3 separate regions of the Homo sapiens genome follow, and all the other regions are linked to region 3. Evidence: promoter capture Hi-C in human tissues and cell types (Jung and others, 2019). All regions are on one chromosome and are shown on one strand. Each heading gives the region's core, a stretch centred on a gene start or on the middle of the fragment in contact. The rest is flanking DNA. Distances are from core to core; before and after follow the strand shown.

Region 1 (4,160 bases), core at 68-2,567, 1.2 Mb before region 3:
GCTGAAATGCCCTGTGAAGTCTCCATCCATCCAGGCACTCTAGTAACCTGCTTCTTCTGCCTGGAATTTATTCTAAAAATACCCACATGGCTCATTTCTCACTTCCTTCAAGTGCATTTCACCGGCTTTCTGATTAAGAAGTCCCACCTCTCCCCTTTGTCTCTTATCAAAGTAGCATTTCTTTCATTGTTTTTTGAGATTGATGTTAGACTTCTAGAAGGAATATATCTCAGATATCAAGTAAGAATTATGAAATGGATAAAAGCGTTGCTCAGTGAATTGGACACAGTTATTGACTGGACACAGTAATTGGACACAATAATTGACTATGCAGGCAAAAGATGTTTTCTGTTGGAATCAGACAGAATTCTACCTTTGTACTACTGTTTCAAGGTGATCTAACATTTCTCTTCTATCTTCTAGAAGCACTATCATGCCACTATCTGAAGTAGTTTTTCACCTGTCCCTGACCAAAAGTGCACAGACTGACTTCAATGCTTCGGAGTGCATACATTTGAAATGTAATATGATAGAGGCTGGGTACGGTGGCTTACGCCTGTAATCCCAGCACTTTGAGAGGCCGAGGCGGGCAGATCACCTGGGGCCAGGAATTTGGGACCACCATAGTGAAACCCTGTCTCTACTGAAAATACAAAAAATTAGCCTGGCGTGGTGGCGCGCGCCTATAGTCCCAGCTACTTGGAAGGTTGAGGCACGAGAATCGATTAACCCGGGAGGCGGAGGTTGCAGTGATCCCAGATGGCGCCGCTGCACTCCAGCCTGGGGGACAGAGGGAAACTTTGTCTTAAAAAAAAAAAAAAAGGAATAAACTTATATGGTAATGTTTATTAGCTTCCCTACTAGTGGATATATTTCGTGTCTGAATGGCTCTATGGAATGATGTACATATTTGGATTGGCAGCCTTAGGGAGCGTCTGATAATAATTTTAGCCTCTGGGAGCCTGCTGAACTTTATGAAGTTTGAAATAATATTCCCCAAACACTTGGGTGATCAGTTGCAGATGGCACCTCTAATATGCTGTCTGATTACGACCCATTTAAGAAAGGGCGAAGTCCCTCCACTGCCCTAGGACTTGGATAAGCCATTTCTCATCGCCCAGCGCCCTGGAGCTTCGCTTTTACTCCAAGAGGTTGGTGCAAAGGGTCCCCGGCACCCACCTCGGGATCTATGAAAACTACATTACCTAGAATGCTCTGCGTTGAACGCCACGCTACTAAGCCAGTAAGAGCTCAGAAAACCGACTTTCCTTGAGAGTCACAAAAAGAAAGGACGGGACTTTTGGGGGGGCCTCTTCGTGGCGGCCATTTTAGCTTCTCTGAGGTGTGTTCACCGGATCAGAGATAGCAGAGCGCCGAGTTGGGGCCACGAAGGCGTGAGGGGAGTCGTCGTCCCTCCTGCACGAAAGCGTCTAAGCCTTGGCGACGCCGCCCTGGGGGACCCACGTCAGGCCTGGGATAGGGACCGCTGTCCCCGGGTCCCTACCAATGTCGCCCGTCGCTCCCGGCCCAGCTCTACCCGCAGAGTCTGATGGCAGCGGCCACTCTGAGGACGCCAACTCAGGTGAGTGCGGCGTCTTCCCGTCCTCACACACCTTCCCCCACCCACGTTCTAAAGCCATCAGTGAGGGGCGCCTGCTCGAGTCCCCGCTGCCCAGGGTCGGGGACACTGAGGCGTTCGTGGGTGGGGCCCTTTTTTTGACACTGCGTGTGACGAGGTGTGGGAGAGCGTGACAGGCGGAGGAACCGGCGCGTGCAAAGGTTGAGGCGCGACTGAGCCAGGAGAATTCGGAAAGCTGTTTTCTGCAGGGAACGAAGAATATGAGGCGGAGTTACTCCTAGGGTTGTACTGTCATTGTGAGGATGCTAGAAGCCACGGAGAGTTCTGAACAAAGGAGGGACGCCATTTATGTTAGTTTTTTTTTCTTTGAGACGGAGTTTCGCTCTTATCGCCCAGGCTGGAGTGCAATGACGCGATCTCGGGTCACTGCAACCTCCGACTCCCGGGTTCAAGCGATTCTCCTGCCTCAGCCTCCCCAGCAGCTGGGATTACAAGCCTGCAGCTGGGATTACAACGTCCGGCTAATTTTTTGTATTTTTAGTAGAGACGGGATTTCACCATTTTGGCCAGACTGGTCTGGAACTCCTGACAAGTGATCCTCCTGCCTCGGCCTCCCAAAGTGCTGGGATTACAGGCGTGAGCCACCGTGCCCGCCCTATGTTAGGGTTTAAAAACTTTTCCAAAGACTGTTCACAGGAAGAGCAGCGATGGGGCGATGAGGACATTGAGATAGTGGGAGGCTACATCTTTTTTTCATTGCCCTACAGTTGGCAAGAGGTGACAGCACTGAGACCAGAAAGTAAAACAGCCAGCCTGAGTTCAGGGCCAGGCAGGGCTACAGGGAGGCTTGAGCTCATCTAGCCTCACCAGGGATGCATTCCTCTTTCCCTGGTTCTCCCAGTTGTAGAAGGGCGTATGGAACTCACATAGGGAAGTGGAGAGTGTTCGGTCCCTCAGTAGCCTCTACCCCCATGTTCTTGGGATTGTGGTTTCCTAGTATTCTTAAGTGCTGTTACCCCAATCCTGGGTCTGGTGCCCTGGAGAAATTCCAAGCCCAGGGCTCTTAAGTCCATGCCAGAGGTTACAGGGGTTATACTGAGGTGTTCCCATTTTTGTCAGCCAGTGGAAACTTGTGAAAGGTTATCTCTGGCACTGGTATCAGGAGGCGCAAGTGCTTAGTAAAACTAAGCTGAGATTTTTGAGGAAACCATAGATCTGTTTCCTTTTAGCTGGGAACAAAGAGCAGGGGGAAGGAGTCAGGACTGCAGTGGCTGCCTGAGAAGTTGGGTACCTATTCTGGAGGTAATGAGAGATTTGGGTTACAAGAGGGAGGTGATCTTACCAAAGTCCTAACAGGGTCCATCCCGTTAGCGTGGAGAGCAGACTGTGGGGTTGAGGGAAGAGGAAAGAAGATCAGAGTGGAAGCTACAGCCAGTCCAGGGTAATGGACCAGAGTCATTGATTAGGAGATGTGTTGCATTCTGGATGCAAATTTTTAAAGGGAGCAACTAAATTTTCTGATGTAGACAGCGAGGGAGTGAAACAGGATTCAGCGATGACCCCATGGTTCTTCAACTGAGATGGAGAAGTTGGTATTAACAGTAATATTCACTGGAGACAACAGGAGCTTTATTTGGTCATGTAAGAGTTTGAGATGTTTCAGAGACATTAAGTAGGCATTAAGTAGGTGGCTGAACACCCAGGTCTGGAAATCTGGGGAGTGCTTCAGAATGGAGACATCCAAAATGTGGTGGTCATTGTGTGGACTAAGGTGAGTGAGCTGTGGATTACATTTAGAAGGGTTGTTCTATTTTTTTTTTTTTTTTTTGAGATGGAGTGTCTCTCTTGTTGCCCAGGCCAGAGTGCAATGGCGCGAGCTTGGCTCACCACAACCTCCGCCTCCCGGCTTCAAGCAATTCTCCTGCCTCAGCCTCCCGAGTAGCTGGGATTACAGGCATGCGCCACCACGCCCGGCTAATTTTGTATTTATTTAGTAGAGACAGGGTTTCTCCATGTTGGTCAGGCTAGTCTTGAACTCCCAACCTCAGGTGATCCACCCGCCTCAGCCACCCAGAGTTCTGGGATTACAGGCGTAAGCCACCGCATCCGGCCTACAAGGGTTAATCTTTAGGCATGGTGGTACAGGTTATTTGGCCAGGAAGGGCAGAATGGGGGCTAAGGACCAAGCCTTTTGGTTGGATAAGTGGGTGATATTCTTGGGCTTTCTAAACAGAGGTAAGGGAGGTTAGTGGCTATGGAGGTAGGGTGTTTGGAGAGGATAGTTGGGCAGGTGGCATACACTTTCAAGGGAAGAGTGGATATAAGGTGGATGCAGAGGCATAGGTGTATTTGAGGCAAATGGCTGTCCTTTTTTTCCTTTGTGCTTATTCAGCACTCTGTGGAATCACCAGGATTTTTTGATGACTTTGATGGGGCCTAGGGTGTTTATTCAACCTGGAGGATAAGGCCAGGTGCCAATGTGGTCATCTGTGACAGTCACTTGGCCTGGGGTAGGTGATCAGTGGAGCTAGTCTTTGAGTGTTAAGTGGACAGAGGAAGGTTGTTACTGCTGAGGGGCTAG
Region 2 (4,346 bases), core at 1,704-4,203, 1.1 Mb before region 3:
GCAGTGGCTCCCAATTCTCTCAGCATACAAACCCAGATCCTCAGGCTGCCATTTCTGGGCTGAATCCTGTCCCTGCTGTCTGATCCCACCAGACATAATGGAGGCCTGAGGTTCCCTGAACACTCCTAGTTTAGCCTTAAGTTAAGTATTTGCACATGCTGGTTCCTATGCCTGAGATAATGTTCCACATTTCATCCCATTGCTTGCCAGAAATAGAAACCCTTCCACATAATTCCAAAACAGAATTTACAACACAGAGCTTTGGGTGACTGCAGGACCTCCAAGAACGGTAGGCAGAAGGGACACTGAAGAGTCCCAGAACACTATCATTCTCCACACTGAGTTGCTGAGATAATGGGGGTGTGTTGGGCTAAGTGAGGGCCTGAGACAATCTACTCTCATCTAGGTAGGAATCATAAGTTTCTGCCACCATGGCAACCTCACAAGAGGAGGGAAGCTGGGAGTGGCAGGTTCCCACAGTGGGATCTCATCGACTGAACTGTTTCCCTAAGCCCTGCCTACCCTGCCCTTTGGCAGGAATGATTTTGGGTTACCTCTCTAACTTCAGATACTCAGATCTCAGTGCTGGCTCCCACCAGCTGTGTGAACATAAAGACCAGCGTCTGAGTGTCCTCATCTTAAAAGTGGGGATAATAATGGCACCCACCTCATAGGGCTACTGTTTGTATCAGGCTTGTCTGTACATCTCAAGTGCCTTTGAAACAGCTACTACTATCCATGCAAATGAACTGATGAGTTTTTGAAAAATTAGGTTTGTTTTGCCTGCTTTAAAGCTTTTAAGAAAATTTGGTTAAGATTTTTCCATTGTAATAAAATACTTCAAGGCAACTTAATATTTTGACCAATCATTAAGTGCTAGTATAAATTTCCCTTACTTTGTACATACATTTTTTAGTTCCTTCTGCGTACTTGCAAGGTGTACACTAGCCCTTGCACTAAACCAGCCTACCTGATACATATTCCTCTGAAGGGGAGCTGCAGTGATCCTTCATTAGAGATGTTCATCAATTCTGCTTACCTGAGGGTTTGGGTAACTGAGGCACCAATGCACTGGTTGGGGATGGGACTGCTCCACAGGCAGCGCCCATGAAGGCATGCTGAGCCTGTAGGGTGGCAAACCTACTGCATCCCTCACCTTGGTCTCCAGTGCAGGCCAGGCTACTTATGCTCTACAGCCCTCTCCTCTTGCTGACACTATAAGATATAATAAAATTCCTCTTCAAAGGTTTAGCCTGTTAACTTCCTTGTTCTTTGTTCTCAAACCTTTCTTGTTCTCCATGCCTCCTTGCCCCTAGTTACTATAAACAACCTTCCTGTAAGCACTAACCAATAATTCACATCTGTTCCCTTACTCACTTTGCACCCATTGCCCCCGCCAAAACCACACGTCCTACACAACTCACATGTCCCACCACTGTAACTCACCTTCCCCTTCCCTCTTCCTTATTTGGAAAATACTCACAAATACCCAATTGGCTCAGCTTAGATTAAGCGGTCCGACCCCAGCCCATGGGGGAGTGACACAGAGGAAGGTAGGGACTATGGGTTAGAGATAAAAACCCCTTCCCTCCTTTGTTCAGTGTGCTCTTGGGATCGTGATTAACACAGGCAGCACACTTGCACAGAAGTAAATTGCCTTGCTGAGAAAACTTTTGCCTGAGTGCTGGTTTCACTTTGCAGCACCAAGCATTGACTTCCAACAACACCATCTAGAATGCTTTCACATGCCAGGACCCCTCCTTTCTGGAAGGAATCTTAAGTGTCCACCCCTTCATCCCTGGCCTTCCACCCTAAACCCACCTCTCACTTCAGAGACCACACAAAATAACTTCCTTGAAATTCCACCCTCTAAATCTGATCTACTACAGGCTTTGACCTTATGCCTCACCCATTGAAGTCTCTAGCACAACTCCCTCTCTAGAACCCCAGACCTGCATGTTCAGCTACCCGTGATGAACCTCCAGTGCAGAACACCTTAGATTCACCAAGTCCAAAACCCAATTCCTGATGCCCCTGAAACGTGCTCCCTGCTGTGACTTACCAATTTCCATTCTTTCACACGTTCAGGAAGGAAAACAGGCCAAAAAAACCCTGGATAGCCCTTTCCTCCCTACATTCACTCACGACCACATCTGATGCGGCAGGAAACCCCATTGGTTCCATCTTTAAAAATCTACCCAGAATCTCATGACTTCCCCACCCAACCCCTCCTGCCACTGCTCTGGCCCAGCCACCACCGCAACACTTCTGGAGTTTGTTGCAGGGACCTCCTCAAACGTCTCCTTGCCTCCATCCTCATCGTTTCTACCTCACTGTAGTCGGTTTCCTCCTCAGCAAACATTGGAATACTTTAAAAATCCTTTTTCGGATCCCTTCCCTCCACCATTCAAAACCCGCCATGGCTCCTATCGTCCTCGCAATGAAGGAGCAACTTCTCCCCTCGACATTGCAGGCCTGACTACGGTTCACACACGCTCCCGACTGCTACGGGCTCAGTCCAGCTCCAAACCTATGCTCAGGCTGCCCCTCTGCCAGTCACACTCGCCCCCACCCACCAGCGCCCCGCTGCCTTGGACACTGGGGCCTGCGCTGCAGGGACTCAGACAGGCGCTCCTCATTTGGAACTTCAGGATTTGGGGCGGGCGAAAGTCTGGGAAAGGCAGCACCCACCTGCGCCGGGCCCATCACCGCGGCCGCCGCCATCACAGTTCGTAGACCACCCGGAGCCGCGAGGGGGTCCCAGGTCGCGGGACCCTGGCACCGCGGTCGTCCGTCCCCGGGGGCGCAGGCGGGGTCTTCGCTGGCGAGCCACTCCGCAGAGCGAACAGCGACTTCTCCCGCACCCTCCCGCTTCCGTCACCTCGGAACCGCCCAGCAACCCCGAGCTTCTGCTCCGATGGTTCCACCTAAGAGCCGACAAGATGTCCACCGCGAGGAAGATACCGGAAGTCCCGCCCAGAGAGCTTCCGTCCGCAGGGAGACGCCCCTAAGAGTGCCGCCGCCGGGCGGCGCACAGGTTTCTGGGCAATGCAGTTCTCATGTGCACTTGGCCGTGGTGACGGCTAACTCCCCTGCACGCTGGGCAAAGGCCAAATGGTACTGCGAGGGGCGCTGAGAAATTATGCCCTGAGACTCTGAGGTCAGGGCGTGGCTTCGCTCCTTTTAAAGGACCCTCAACCAGGTCTTGTGTAGTGAGGTCTGCAGGGATCCCCGAAATATTGGGATATATTCTTACAGATGTTCCCTGAAGCCACACCACCAAATGGACACACAACATCCAATGTCACTCTGAGTCCACTCATAGTTCAGTCAAATTTCCTTCATTTAAAAAATATGTGTACTGTAGAGGGAAGCTTTGAGTCAGTTTTGTGAGCCTCAGTTGGGTCAGAGTTAACAGAGAATTGTCCCCAGGCAGGGCCATGGAGTGGAAGAATGGTCTCCAGACAGTGGCTATGGAGGGATGCTGGAGCTCCCTGAGGCAAGTGGACTAATATAGAGCTCTTCCTCTGGTTTCCTCAGAAAAAAAATACCTGAGAGAACCATGAGGAGGAAGACAGGCGAGAGAAGGTGGTCAAGGAAGGCACCTTTCCTGCCTGTATGGTCACTAATGTCCAACCAAAGGAGAAATATTCTTTTATCCAAATGAGAGTTCCTAGCCCAAAAGTTGAGATATATCTATTTCCTTTTGGTGATGTTTCTTATCTGAAAAGAAGAACCATTATAAATGCTTTTATATGCCAAGACAGGGGCTGAAAATGTGGTGTCTGAACCCAGAAATAAAGATTTGGAAAATTGGGATCAGATTTCTTGGCTGGGAGGTGATTCTCATTTCACCTGCAATTACACCGACAGTGTCTGAATTGAGAATTGAGATTTATTTATGGTTTTAAAAAAGAAAAGGGCGAGTGTATGGGGAAAGAAAGACAAAAACATTTGTGAATTGTTTAAATTACTCAAAAGTTGTTTTGTGTTTTTTTTTTTTGAGACGGAGTCTTGCTCAGTCGCCCAGGCTGGAGTGCAGTGGTGCGACCATAGCTCACTGCAGGCTCCGCCTCCCAGGTTCACACTATTCTCCTGCCTCAGCCTCCGGAGTAGCTGGGATTACAGGCGCCTGCCACCATGCCCGGCTAACTTTTTGTATTTTTAGTAGAGATGGGGTTTCACCGTGTTAGCCAGGATGGTCTCGATCTCCTGACCTCGTGATCTGCCCGCCTCAGCCTCCCAAAGTGCTGGGATTACAGGAGAGCCCCCGCGCCCGGCCAAATTACTCAAAGTTAATAATTCTGTAGTTATTCACAGATACATGACGAAATGGACCTGGAGAA
Region 3 (4,198 bases), core at 469-2,968:
CTCAGCCCTACAAAATTGCTCCCCACTTCCAATGCCAGTTGCAAACCCCAGGTTGTTTTACTTGTGCTTCTGACTAGCTATAAATCGGGGTTCCTATGACCCCCTCCTTGCGTTCAATTAATTTGCTAGGGCAGCTCACAGAACTTAGGGAAACACGTTTGTAGTAATAAAGGATATTACAAAGGATGCAGGTGAAGAAATGCATAGGACAAGGTTATATAGGAAGGGGCTCATCCTACAGGAACCTCCAGTGTTCAGCTATCTGGAAGTTTGATGAACCCAGTCCTTTTGGGTTTTTATGGAAGCTTCATAATGTAGGCATGACTGGTTAAATCACTGACCACTGATGATCAGTTTAACCTGTGGCTCCCTTTCCTTTCCCTGGAGATTGAGGGATGGGGCAGGTAATCCCAACCCTCTAATCCTGCCTAGATTGTTCTTGTGACCATCCCTTACCGTGATCAACCTACAGGCTGCCAGCCCACCAATCATTAGCATGCAAAAAGACACTTAATACTTTGGAGATTCCAAGGATCTTAGAAGTCGTAAGCCAGGAAACATAACTTTGTCCTATACTTTGATCGCCTCCCTCTCTCTCACAAACTCATAACAACATAACCTAGTCTCACTCTTTGGACTCTCACAGTTTAGTCTCTTTCTCTCTCTCATACACACACACCAGCCTCTCAAGGAGCCTCACATAATGACTGGTCTTTCACACACAGCCACGTGCTCATCTCTCTCACACTCACTGGTCTCACGCTATGTTGTCTCTCACACACGAACACACCCTGGTCTCACACTCTGGTCTCTCTCAGTCTGTCAGACACACATAACACGGCCTCACACACTGACGGGTCTTTCACCCAAAACACCCATTTCTCACACTCACTGGTCTCCCTTTCACACATTAACATACCACAGTCTCACACTCTGTTCTTGCACAGTCTAGTCTCGCATACATGGTGATTCTTCTCTCTCTCGAACACACACCGGCCTCTCATTGAGCCTCACCCACCGACCGACCGGCCTTTCACACACAGGCACACGCCCATCTCTCACACTCACTGGTCTCTCACACTCCATCCAGCCCGTCTCACTCTCTCACACGAATACATCCTGGTCTCACGCTCTGGACACCTGGTCTGTTACACACTTACACACCCACACACCTCGCAACCTCTCACTGAGCTTCACACGCTCTCTTTCAAATGCAGGCACATCCCTATCTCTCTCACACTCACTGGTCTCTCACACTGGCCCGTCTCGCTCTGTCACACACGAACATACCCTGGTCTCACACTGGACTCTCGGTCTGTCACACACACACACACACACACACAGAAACCACACCCTCTCACGGAGCCTCACACTCTGACAGATCTTTTACACACAGGCACACCCCCATCTCTCCCACAGCTCACTCCAGTGGTCCCGCCGCCCCAAGCCGCCCCGAACGCCCAGCAGCCCCGAGCCGCGGCCTCCGCCCCGCAGACTCGAGTACGCGCGCCCCGCTGGCCTCTGGGAAATGTAGTCGTCCTGGGGACAGAGGACGCGGCTGGGCCTTCGCGACCCGCGTCGGAGCCGCCCGCCTCGCCTGCCCTTCCTGGCCCAGCCCTCGAGCTCGGACTCCCAAACCACCCAAAACAAACCCCCGGCCTCGTCTGGCACCCAGACGCTCTCATCCGAAGGACTCCGTGAGTCGACGCTGGAACCCCCCATCGCGCAGGCGCCAGCCTCTCTCCAGGGGTCGGACGAGAGGGGCGGAGACAAGGCGTGGCCTAGTGTTGAGGGGATTGTCCTCGGGCTGCTGAAGGAGTGAGAGGGACCTTAGAGCAGAGCGGGCGGTGCCTGCGCAGTGCGTGATTACGCGAGCCGGGCGTGGCCCAGGGTTCCGGCGGGTAAGAGCAGGAGTGTGCGCAGGCGCAAAGATTGCGCTCTCCCCCTCTCCTCGCCTAGAGACCAGAAGCGTCCCTAGTTACTAGTTCCTGGGGCCTGGGAGGGAAACGCGCGACGGCTGAGCCTTCGGTGTGAGTACGCGTGGGGCTTTGTGACGCTGTCTGTGCCTCTGTGATCGCGATGTCATTCGGAGCGCGGCCTTCTGTGCCAGTCCGTGGGAGTGTCATTATCTTTCTGTGTTAAGCTTATTTTGGAATAAGACAGCGACGAGGAACCCCGACCGTGTTGTGACTCTGGCGAATTAATACCTCTTTCAGCTGCAAATGGGAATGTCACTGATCAGAGGCAGTGAATAACACGACGTTTTTGGAACCAATCTGCTAGGCTTGAACCGCGTTCAGCCCCTTAACAAAATGGAAATGGTCCCCGTTTTAGGGGACTAGCCCTGACTAGGAGAACTGTAGAATTAGTATTGGAAGGTGAGACAAATAAGGAAAAGCAATTCAGGGGGATACAGCAGAGAAAAAAAAATCCCTGTCCTCTTATTATGTAATTTACTTTGAAGCGGAGAGAGACAAGCCACAAATTCATGAGTTAGATAAACAGTCTGATGAACAGTAAAAAGGGCTATGGAGAAATATAACTCAGAGAAGGTTGTATCGTATACATTTTTTCTATTGTCTCTTATAATGTCTTAACATGTCAAAAAAACCTGTCTGCAGCAGACACCAGCCAGGTGACCGCTACTCCAATTCAATTCTGACGCTACCTGGAAAACATCAGATCCTACAGGTTAGACAGCTCAGTCCCAAAAGACTGTCCCCCACTTCCCATGCCAATTCCAAACTCCAGATTGTTGTACCTGTGTTTCAGAGAGATGTGCTATAAATTGGGGCTCCCACAGCCGGCTCCTTGGGTTCCATTAGTTTGCTAGAGCAGCTCACAGAACTCAAGGAAACACTTATGTTTACTGGTTTATTATAAAAGATATTTTAAAGGATACAAATAGCCAGATGAAGAGACATGTAGGGCAAGGTCCGAGAGAATCCCTAGTGCAGGAACTTCTGTGCCCGTGGAGTTGGGGTGCACCACCCTCCCAGCACGAGGATGTGTTTTTGTCTACCTTCTTGGAAGCCGCTTGAACTCAGGCCTTTTCGGTTTTCAAGGTTTCATTATGTAGATGTGATTGATTAAATCATTGGCCACTGGCGATCAACTTAATTTTCAGGCTCTCTCTTTTCCCAGAAGTAGAGGGTGGAGCTGTGAGTTCCAGTCCTCTGAGCACATGGCTGGTTCCTCTGGCAACTAGCCACCACTCCCCCCAAATATTGGGATTATCTTGAGAGTTTCCAAAAATCACCTCATTAACATAAACTCATGTGTGGTTGAAATACTGTCTTTCACCTTTATGGCTCTGGAGCTGTTCTGGAGCTTTTTCAGGAACCAGGAACAAAAGGCCAGATATTTTAACAAAAGATACTTTATTGCTGCAGTCATTTAGGAAATTAAAAGAGCTGTAGGAACTGAGAGCCATGAACTGTACCTTTCTTTCTAACTCCACATTCAGTGATGTCATATTGGTAGATTGAAATCCACCACAAGGGGACTATTTACAGTATGGAAATACAGTCTACATCGCTAAAGGATGGAGATACATTCTGAGAAATGGGTTCTTAGGCAATTTCCTAAGAACCTTGTTGTGCAAACATCATAGAGTGTACTTACACAAACCTAGATTGTGTAGCCTACTACACACCCACACTCACTCAGACTGGGACAACTTAGACATACCAGTTAACTTACTGTGCACATCTTTGGGATGTGGGAGGAATCTGGAGTACCCAGAGAAAACCCATGGAGACATGGTGAGACTAGTCAGATTGCATTAGGACCCACCCTAACGACCTCATTTCAACTTAATTAACTCTGTAAAAATCCTATATCCAAATACAGTCACATTCTGAGGTACTGGGAGTTAGGACTTCAACATGCAAAATTTGGGGCAGACAAAATTCAACCAATAACAAGAGATTATTTTGATTCTTCTGTCCTCATTCATCCCACCAAGGAAGTAAGGGGTATTTCCATTATCATACTATATATTAAATTATCATTACATTACATATATAATGTTTTCTTTATCTAATTTTTACTTTATATATACCACATTTTTGTTCATGGGCCATCAAAGGTATTATCTCACATAATTCTTGTAAAAATAAAATTGAATAACTAACTTTACAGTTGAAGATTTAAACAATAAGGGACTTTTTCCAAAGCCACACATCTAATAAGTTTC

The links. The method cuts DNA at HindIII sites, captures the fragments that hold promoters and counts their contacts. A contact is called where the count stands out against the background at its distance.
Region 1: a contact is called between the fragment with the promoter of ZNF154 here and the fragment with the promoter of ZNF471 in region 3, in 1 of the 25 tissues and cell types used here (stomach).
Region 2: a contact is called between the fragment with the promoter of ZNF134 here and the fragment with the promoter of ZNF471 in region 3, in 1 of the 25 tissues and cell types used here (pancreas).

Annotation. Positions count from the first base shown.
Region 1 is chr19:57,706,361-57,710,520 of GRCh38, reverse strand. ZNF154 (zinc finger protein 154) reads left to right here and starts at 1,317. Exons shown (of 3, transcript NM_001085384.3): 1 at 1,317-1,582. The coding sequence starts at 1,550. RefSeq lists enhancers at 1,137-1,196, 1,217-1,346, 1,090-1,729. The HindIII fragment of the contact is 14,166 bases long and covers 1-4,160 here.
Region 2 is chr19:57,612,849-57,617,194 of GRCh38, reverse strand. It overlaps ZNF134 (zinc finger protein 134), which reads right to left and starts at 2,953. Exons shown (of 3, transcript NM_003435.5): 1 at 2,692-2,953. RefSeq lists a silencer at 2,699-2,748 and an enhancer at 2,879-3,058. The HindIII fragment of the contact is 8,655 bases long and covers 1-4,346 here.
Region 3 is chr19:56,505,375-56,509,572 of GRCh38, reverse strand. It overlaps ZNF471 (zinc finger protein 471), which reads right to left and starts at 1,718. Exons shown (of 5, transcript NM_020813.4): 1 at 1,653-1,718. The HindIII fragment of the contact is 4,462 bases long and covers 1-3,210 here.